3 separate regions of the Homo sapiens genome follow, and all the other regions are linked to region 3. Evidence: promoter capture Hi-C in 16 types of primary human blood cells and fetal thymus (Javierre and others, 2016). All regions are on one chromosome and are shown on one strand. The core of a region is centred on a gene start or on the middle of the fragment in contact, and the rest is flanking DNA. Distances in the headings are between cores, read along the strand shown.

The links. Contacts are between HindIII fragments. The CHiCAGO score rates a contact against its expected background, and 5 or more counts as called.
Region 1: a contact is called between a fragment that was not itself captured here and the fragment with the promoter of ANKRD13C in region 3, in 1 of 17 cell types (total B cells). The highest score is 5.3, in total B cells.
Region 2: a contact is called between a fragment that was not itself captured here and the fragment with the promoter of ANKRD13C in region 3, in 2 of 17 cell types (total B cells and total CD8 T cells). The highest score is 8.9, in total B cells.

What each region holds. Positions count from the first base shown.
Region 1 is chr1:66,922,484-66,925,183 of GRCh38, forward strand. It overlaps DNAI4 (dynein axonemal intermediate chain 4), which reads right to left and starts at 2,373. Exons shown (of 17, transcript NM_024763.5): 1 at 2,179-2,373. The coding sequence starts at 2,348. MIER1 (MIER1 transcriptional regulator) reads left to right here and starts at 2,507. Exons shown (of 14, transcript NM_001077700.3): 1 at 2,507-2,612. The coding sequence starts at 2,546. RefSeq lists enhancers at 2,076-2,235, 2,526-2,700 and a silencer at 2,376-2,495. The HindIII fragment of the contact is 543 bases long and covers 1,050-1,592 here.
Region 2 is chr1:74,737,555-74,740,254 of GRCh38, forward strand. It overlaps TYW3 (tRNA-yW synthesizing protein 3 homolog), which reads left to right. Exons shown (of 6, transcript NM_138467.3): 3 at 1,136-1,234. Among named protein-coding and RNA genes, the nearest start is that of TYW3, 5.8 kb to the left of the region's middle. The HindIII fragment of the contact is 226 bases long and covers 1,293-1,518 here.
Region 3 is chr1:70,353,423-70,356,122 of GRCh38, forward strand. It overlaps ANKRD13C (ankyrin repeat domain 13C), which reads right to left and starts at 1,300. Exons shown (of 13, transcript NM_030816.5): 1 at 557-1,300. The coding sequence starts at 986. It overlaps ANKRD13C-DT (ANKRD13C divergent transcript), which reads left to right and starts at 1,389. Exons shown (of 4, transcript NR_168352.1): 1 at 1,389-1,786. RefSeq lists enhancers at 1-906, 166-1,084, 1,040-1,089, 1,085-2,002, 1,130-1,189 and 3 more. The HindIII fragment of the contact is 4,699 bases long and covers 840-2,700 here.

The sequences.
Region 1 (2,700 bases), core at 71-2,570, 3.4 Mb before region 3:
ATCCTGTGGGGCCCTGTAAAGAGTTTTACTGAGTGAAATGGAAAAAACTTGAGAAATGTTTTGAGCAGAACCACATTGATTACTACCTGGAGGGTGTTGGCAAGGAGACTATTTAGGTGGGTATCACAATGTAACACAGTGATTTACATGGGAGTGGTAGTCTGGATTTATTTGGCAGGTAGAAATGGTAAAATTTGCTTATAGAGTGAGGTATAAGATAGAAGTCAAGGGTAATCCCAAGGTTTTTCCCCTGAGTAAGTGAAAGAGTGGAATTTGCCATTTACTAAAATGAGAAAGATTGCAGTTAATTAGAAAAGACAGAAAATATTATATATTTGGTTTGAGATGTTTATTAACTTATAAGTGCAGGTGTTTTTTCTTAAAATCTGTTTTCTTGGGAGAGGTCTTAGCCAGAGATTAACATTTGTGAATCATCATTATAGGTGATATTAAAGACATCAGAGTGAAGAGGTTTATGGACTAACCCAGCAATACCAATACAGTCCTGGATCATCAACAATGAATCACATATACAATGGTGATCTGGTAGCAGAGCTGAAAAATTCCTATTGTCTAACAACGTTGTAGTTGTCACAACATTCAAGCACAAGACATTACCTTTTCTATGTTTACATACACAAATACTTAGCATTGTGTTACAATTGCCTACAGTATTCAGTACAGTAACATGCTATGCAGGTTGGTAGCCTAGAAGCAACAAATGCATTTTCATCATTATGCAAACACCATTTAGTGTACTTACACAAACCTAGATGTATAGCCTACTATAGCTTAGGTGTACAGTCTACTATACAATTGTAGCCTAGGTGTATAGTAGCCCATACATCTACGTTTGTGTAAGTACACTAGAAGATATTTGCAAAATGCTGAAATTGGCTAACAAGGTATTTCTCAGAAGGTATCACCATCGATGCATGACTGTATTTAGTTATGGTAGTGAGGAACAGATACCAGCAAAGGATCTGGGAAAGGTGAAACCATGAACCAAGACAAGAACTAGGAAGAGTGGTTTCTCAGAACCCAAATAAAGCTTTTCAAAGATCGAGAAGCGATAAACCCGACCGACACTGCTTCATTCAAAAAGAATGAAACTGTGGATCAGCCATTGTATTTGGTTGCATGGCTATTGCTGGCTTTCATAGAAGCTGTTTTGATGGAGTGGTAGGATGGACAAAAGCGTGAGTACCATATTCAAGAGAGAATGCAAGGTTCTCTCCCAAGAACTCTCAACAAGTTCCGCTGAAGAAAGATTAGCTGAGGTGGAGGAGATTGGAGAGGGGAAGAGAAAACAAATTACTTAGGGAATTTTGGGGGAACTTAGTGGGCAGCATTACGGGCAGCGCTAAGGAACCATTTAAAGTAAGACAAGTCCACACAGCTGTGTGCTTTTCTACAGTCTTGTTCAACTGCTGCATAACAACAGAATGTTGGAAGCAGGAATTAGTTTTAAAGTAAGATGGTATTGACGAGACGACAATAAAATACCTCTACTACAGAGCACAGCAATGTTCGGCCTGGTGGCTCACAGAAGCTGAGGCTCTTGAACGTCTGGGCACAGCATGAAAGCATCAAGCTTGAGAGACTGCAGGCCTTAACAAACTAGAAGTGCTAGAACGATGGTTCTAAACCAGGTCTTTTCTCACACAGCAAGCACAGCAATAGAGATTTATTTTATCTTATTTTTTAGACAGAGTCTCGCTCTGTTGCTCAGGCTCGAGTGCAACGGCACGATCTCGGCTTACTGCAACCTCCGCCTTCCGGGTTCAAGGGATTCTCCTGCCTCAGCCTCCCAAGTAGCTGGGATTACAGGCATGTGCCACCACGTCCGGCTAACTTTTTGTATTTTTAGTACAGACGGGGTTTCACCATGTTGGCCAGCCTGGACGCTAACTTCTGACCTCAGGTGATCCACCCCACTCGGCCTCCCAAAGTGCCGGGATTACAGGTGTGAGCCACCGCGCCCAGCCCAGTAGAGATTCTTTTAAAGACTGCGGTAGGTCGATAAAGGAGACATTGTGGCCTAGGAGCTTCAAGGTCTACAGACTGAACCCAGTTAGGGTAGGGCCCCTTTCCAAATCCAGAAATGGTATCTATTAATAGAAGGGCTCCCTCCGGGTCCCAGGGGGATGGACTACGGTTTTTAGCGCCGGAACTTACAACCCGAAGTTCTGCTGCTTGTGACTGCCTGCCGGAGAGACTGGCATGGTGGCGACCAGCTGGGGAGTGGTGCACCACCCCTTTTTTTGGCCGCCTCTGAAGTCCCTGTACCCCCAAGCTCCTCCGTTAGCGGCTCGGGCCGAGGCTCCGGAATGTTTGCCGGGCGTCATGGCGACGGTGGAGCCCTGGCTCAACAAGCGGCCGCGCGGTTGGCTGGCGGCACGAGGCCGAGGAGGAGGGCGGAGGCGGAGGGGAGGGCAGAGGGTTGGTGGAGCTGGAGGAAGCTCCGGACGACGACTGGAAGAAGGAGGCGGGCGGCCCGGGCCTCAGGCCCCTCCCAGGCTCTGAGTCTCCCGGCTGCAGGCGGATGGATGGGGCTTCTTCAGGCGGTGGCGGCAGCAGCGAAGGTGGCGGCGGCAGCAGCGGCAGCGGCTGTAAGTGCAGCCTCCACAAGCCATCTCTCCCCTTCTATTCCAGTTTGGGATGAGGGGCTCCTGAGGTGTCCTCAGTCCCCTTTCTCTC
Region 2 (2,700 bases), core at 156-2,655, 4.4 Mb after region 3:
TGACAGCCCCACCAGAAATCAAATGGTGTGAAGGCAGGACGATGTTGCCCGGGGATGCTGGGCAGACAGAAATAATAACTGTCTTGTATAAATTCTAGCTCAGACACAATATTACATGTTTCACTAGGTGGTCAGACTACGCCGCAGGATACACTGTAACATGGGTGCAGCCAAGGTTAAAAGGCAGGCAAGTGCTACCTAGGGAAGAGACTAGTACCTGACTCAAGGTCACTAACAAAAAACACGCATACTAGGCTCAAGTGTTGTAACATTTGCTTATAGCAGGAGGGAAGAGACTACACAAGATCTAGCCCTTTGCAATGTGTCAGTCCCCATGGCTAGCAGATTGGTTCCACAGCTGATCAGGGCAGAGTGATGGCATGTACCCCACTTTGTGCTGCAGTAGCTCCCAGACCCTGAACACTGCCCCATAGGGTCTGAAATACAGAAAGCTAGGAACGTGCTCAGGGGCCATTGGTTCTCATGTAGCTGAGCAGTTCCAAGGTTCCTCTCCCAAAGTTAGGAGATAGCAAAAACAAACAAGTGAACAGGGAAAAAAAAACAAACAAAAAAACTGCAAGTTGCAATTGTTACAACAACTGTGCCTGTTACAGAGGGAACAGGAACTCACTGGCTGTGCTCTGAGCTCTTTGCATGCACTGCTATTTGTGAGCTTACTAGTGCTGCTGGTAAGCACTGGTGCTTGGTACAGGATGCTTCTTGGGAACATGGGTGGCAGTTAGGCTTTGTTTGGACCCTTCTCTCACATTACATTTGTCTCTATCTCAATCTAACAAAAAATTTAAACAATCCTAATACAGTTTTTGTATACTACATTTCCTAATGAAAAATCCGTTATGGAATTAAATAAAGTAGTAGTTTACTTCTTCAAAGCACACTAATAGGTGGAAAGAATGGTATAGAAGATTTACGGGAGAACTAGAAATTTTAAGAAAATAAGCAAATAAATTTTTGGTGAAAAAGGACCAAGAAAGCAGAGGGAAAAGTTACTGCAGAAAAAATATGCTGAGTGATTCTGAAAATTTCTAAGAGAAATTGAAGTTATGTATGGGGTAAAGGGTCGCCAAAGGACAGGCCATATACTTGCATCTGATACCACTGTTCATTTATTTAGATTGTAGCTCTGAAGAAAGCAAATGGTGATGCCACTTTGAAATTTGAACCATTTGTTCTTCATGTGCAGTGTCGACAATTGCAGGATGCACAGATTCTGGTAAAATTTTGTTGTAATTGTACTTGAATTTATAGATATGTGGGTAGATGTAATTTTAAGCTTTTAACCTGCTATAAATATCAATGAGATATTACCTTATTCAACTAGTTATGTATATATTATTTATTGGTCTGCTCAATCTATTAATTTTTAATATTAGAAAAAAAGAGTAGCTAATCATTGCTAGGAAAATATAAGTCCCAGGTTATGCTTCCTGTTTTCTTTCTTAACGTTTTTATTTATAAATTTTACTTCAGCATTCTATAGTTTGTTTTTGTTTGCCAAGCTTTAAGAAAAAATACTGTGGAACTACATGTAAAATTAAGAGTTTTAAAGAATATTTCATTTTTCCCATTTAAATGAGCATGCATGAGGTAAACATCTGTTTAGTCTTGATTCTCCTTTTTATACCTTTTATATATTTATATATAAAACTGAATTGCATTTTAAGCAACAATAATGTATTGAGTCTCAGTGTGTCAAGTACTAGGGGCACAGTGATGAACAAGATTAAAGACTGTCTTGGTTCCTCTTCCAAAGTTAGGAGACAGCAAAAACAAACAAGTGAACTGGCAAAAAAACAAAAAACAAACTGCAAGTTGCAAAATGTTCTACCGAAGGAAAAAACAACCTGGTAATAGAGAACAGTGCAAAAAGCAGCTCACTTGAAGATAGGCTTCTCTGAAAAGCTTTCTTTAAGCTAAGACTTAAAGGAACAGAAAGAGCTAGGCATGTAGCTGGGAAATGAACATTCCATGAAGATGGAAAAGTATATACAAAGTTTCAGTGGGTCTAGAGAGTGGAAAGAAGGTGCCAGAAGGAGGCTGGGGCCAGGTCATTTAAGGCTTTGTAGACCAGATTAAAGAGTTTGAATTTCTTTCTGAGTTCAGGGAAAAGTTATTGAAGGGACAGTTTTAAGCAAAGAGTGGCTTTCTAGGTTTTTGTTCTGAAAAACTCAGTTCTGCTTCAGCATAGAGAAAGGAGTGCAGTAAGTGAAAAGATACGAGTTAGGAGTAGTTTGTGGTGATAGGTTGGTGTAAGGTGATAGCACCAAAGCAGGTGAGAAAGGAATAGATTCAATATGTATTTCAGCATTTGAATCAACAGAATTGTAAGGTTGTCTGGGGAAGGACAGCCAGAGGGAGGAGGAGAAAGAGGAATCAAGGATAACTACTTAGGTCTGGCTGGAGCCCCTAGCTGTATGGTAGTCGCCTTTATCCAGATGGGGTGTGCTGAAGTTGAAGTGTGTCCAGAATTGGTTCCTTCCAGTGGGTTATTGGTCTCGCTGACTTCAAGAATGAAGCCGTGGACCCTCGCAGTGAGTGTGACAGTTCTTAAAGATGGTATGTCCGGAGTTTGTTCCTTCAGATGTTCAGATGTGTCCGGAGTTTCTTCCTTCCAGTGGGTTCGTGGTCTTGCTGACTTCAGGAGTGAAGCTGCAGACCTTCGCAGTGAGTGTTACAGCT
Region 3 (2,700 bases), core at 50-2,549:
GTATCAAATACCAACAAATTTCTACTGTGTGGCTTTCAGAAATCTAACATTCTAAGTTTACTGAAAGCAGACAAAAAAGAAACAACCTGGTGGCAGGCAAAATCACAACCAGTTGCAGTCAAGATGGGATCTGTATGTGAGCAATGAAGGGAGGAGGGCAATTTATGCGTTCAAAATTTAAAATGCCAAGGTAGGGGGAAGAGAGAGAAATAAAGATATATAGCTCCATAAACAAAGGGAGAAAACCATGTTGGGTGGGAGGCAACCTAAAATTTCTGACAGTCCAGAATCAGCAAATCGAAGGCCTGTCTCAAACAAAACAGCTTCTCACGACAAACTTTGAAGTGGGCAAGGAGGATACATTCCTTTGCACCCACAAGAACCAACCCCTTGACCACTGGCACGCTATTACTGAGTCGATCATGATTTACCGAACGGCCCGGATGATGGGCAAAAAGAAGAGTCTGCTGGAGGGGGCCTAGGATTCCAGAAGCCTGGGGAGGCACACCCTAGGCTCGGGGAAGGAGAGAGGTGGAGAGGGGCTAGCACTCCTCACCGTGATTATCTTTCTGCCCGATATTGTGCGTGCGGATGAGAGAGGAGAGTCTCCTCACATCCCCCTTGAAGACGCACTCGTGCACCGGGTAGTGTGCGGGGCAACTGCCTCCATCCGCGACGACAGCAACGGGGTTGGTGCCGGCCAGAAGGGCCGGGGACTGGGAGTTGGCAGTCACGGAGGAATTGTGCAGCGGCAGAGCCGGGGCGCCGGGGGGATTGGAGGAGGCCGGAGCTGCCTTCAGCTGTAGCCGGTGGTGATGGTTACTGAAGATCTTATGACAAGCTTTGCCGCCCTTGCCAATCCTGCTTCTGGTAAAGGTACCGCCGAGGGCAGCCGCCGCTTCCTCATCCCCGGGCTCCAGCAGGTCCCCTTCTTCTTTGCTGGGCTTGTGGTCCCTCCGCAGTGAGCGGATCTTCTCCCCGGTCATCGCCGCCGCCAGGGGCAAGGGGGGGAATCGGGAGGCTCACCGCTGGCGACGGAGCTGGCGCTGCGGCGGCACAAGGCGATTAGAGCGGTGGCCAAGAGCCTCCAGCGCAGCATGAACTCCCACTGAGCCCCCGAGCCTGGGACAAACGCATCTCCCGGGGAAGAGCCGGCTCTCGCCTAGGCACGAAGGGACGCGCGCTCGCTGGGGGAAGCTAGAACTCAGGTGCCCACGACACCAGGATCTCAGTCTCGCCGTCGCAGCCGCCGTCGCTGCCTTACACCGAAAAACAGGGCACGGCCATCTTCCTCTTGCTCCTCTCGCGAGAGCTCCCCCAGGAGTGAAGAGAGAGAAAACACCGCGATAAGTGAGCCACCCGCTCCCTCCCTCGCACCTTCTATTCCCAGAATCACTAGGCGCCGGCGCCTCCGAGGCAGTGTGTTTCCGCCCAGAGCTGGAGTCTCCCAGCTGCCAGCCGACCCCGAACCCGCACTCCCGCCAACCGCGCTTTTTGTGGGCGGTCGGAAACCACAGCCTCCGTTGGATATGTTCGGTGCATGTTATAAACAACCACTTAAACCCTCCGGATCTGAGCCTCCCGCAGAGGAATGCAGAATGACGCCACGGCACGCAGGATGTGATGTCACCGAGATGCAGAGGATACTCAGTCAACCAACATTTACTGAGCATCTACTTCGTGCCGTATGTACGAAGCTAGCAAATATGTACAGCACCAGTACTGATTGCAGGGAGCACTGTAGAAGAGGAATGAAGGCCAAACAATTAAAAGCGGAGGCGGGGAGGTGGGTTGCACACAAAAAAGGGAGGGACGAATTTTAGTGTTGAGTTGTCAGGAAAGTCATAGAAGAGTTTAGGTGCTGACTTTGGAAAATGATGGGCTGTCCAGCAATCGGAAAGAGGGGAGGCCACTCAAATATTTATTAGATGAATGAATTTCGGGCAGATGTCAGAGTTAACATATATGAGGGTGGGGACACTCAAGGAGGGCAAAGAATCGTGTAACTGAAATATAATTGTATTAGTTCATGGCCAACCTCAACCTAGTGTCAAACTCTGAAGAAACGTAAATCTGCCAACCATAAAACTTTAACAAAGTAACTAAAGCTGGCCACTGAGGACGTAAGGAGGGGGCTTAGCAAAACATCCTAAAGATCTTCACCCATTTAACTCTCCAAAGTCCCCCTATGTTCTGAGAGCAAATACTTCAGATCTCTCTCTCTTTTTTTTGTTTTTTTGTTTTTTTGACAGAGTCTCTGTAGTCCAGGCTAGAGTGCAGTGGTGCAATCTCGGCTCACTGCGACCTCCACCTCCCAGGTCCAAGCGATTCTCCTGCCTCAGCCTCCAGAGTAGCTGGGATTATAGGCCTGCGCCACCACACCAAGCTAATTGTTGTATTTTTAGTAGAGACGGGGTTTCACCGTGTTGGCCAGGCTGGTCTTGAACCCCTGACCTCAGTGATCCGCCAGCCTCAGCCTCCCAAAGTGCTGGGATTACAGGCATGAGCCACTGCGCCCGGCCAGATCTCTTCTTTCTTAAAGTTTATACTACTGCTAACTCATCTCCGCAAACAAACAACTCGATGGGCCTCTCTTAATCCTCCCCAGTCACTCAACTTTTCACCTCCAATTTTCTTCTCAGTCTGTTCAGATAAATCTGTTTCTTCCTCTTCTTTCTTTTTCGGTGGAGTGGAGAGTTC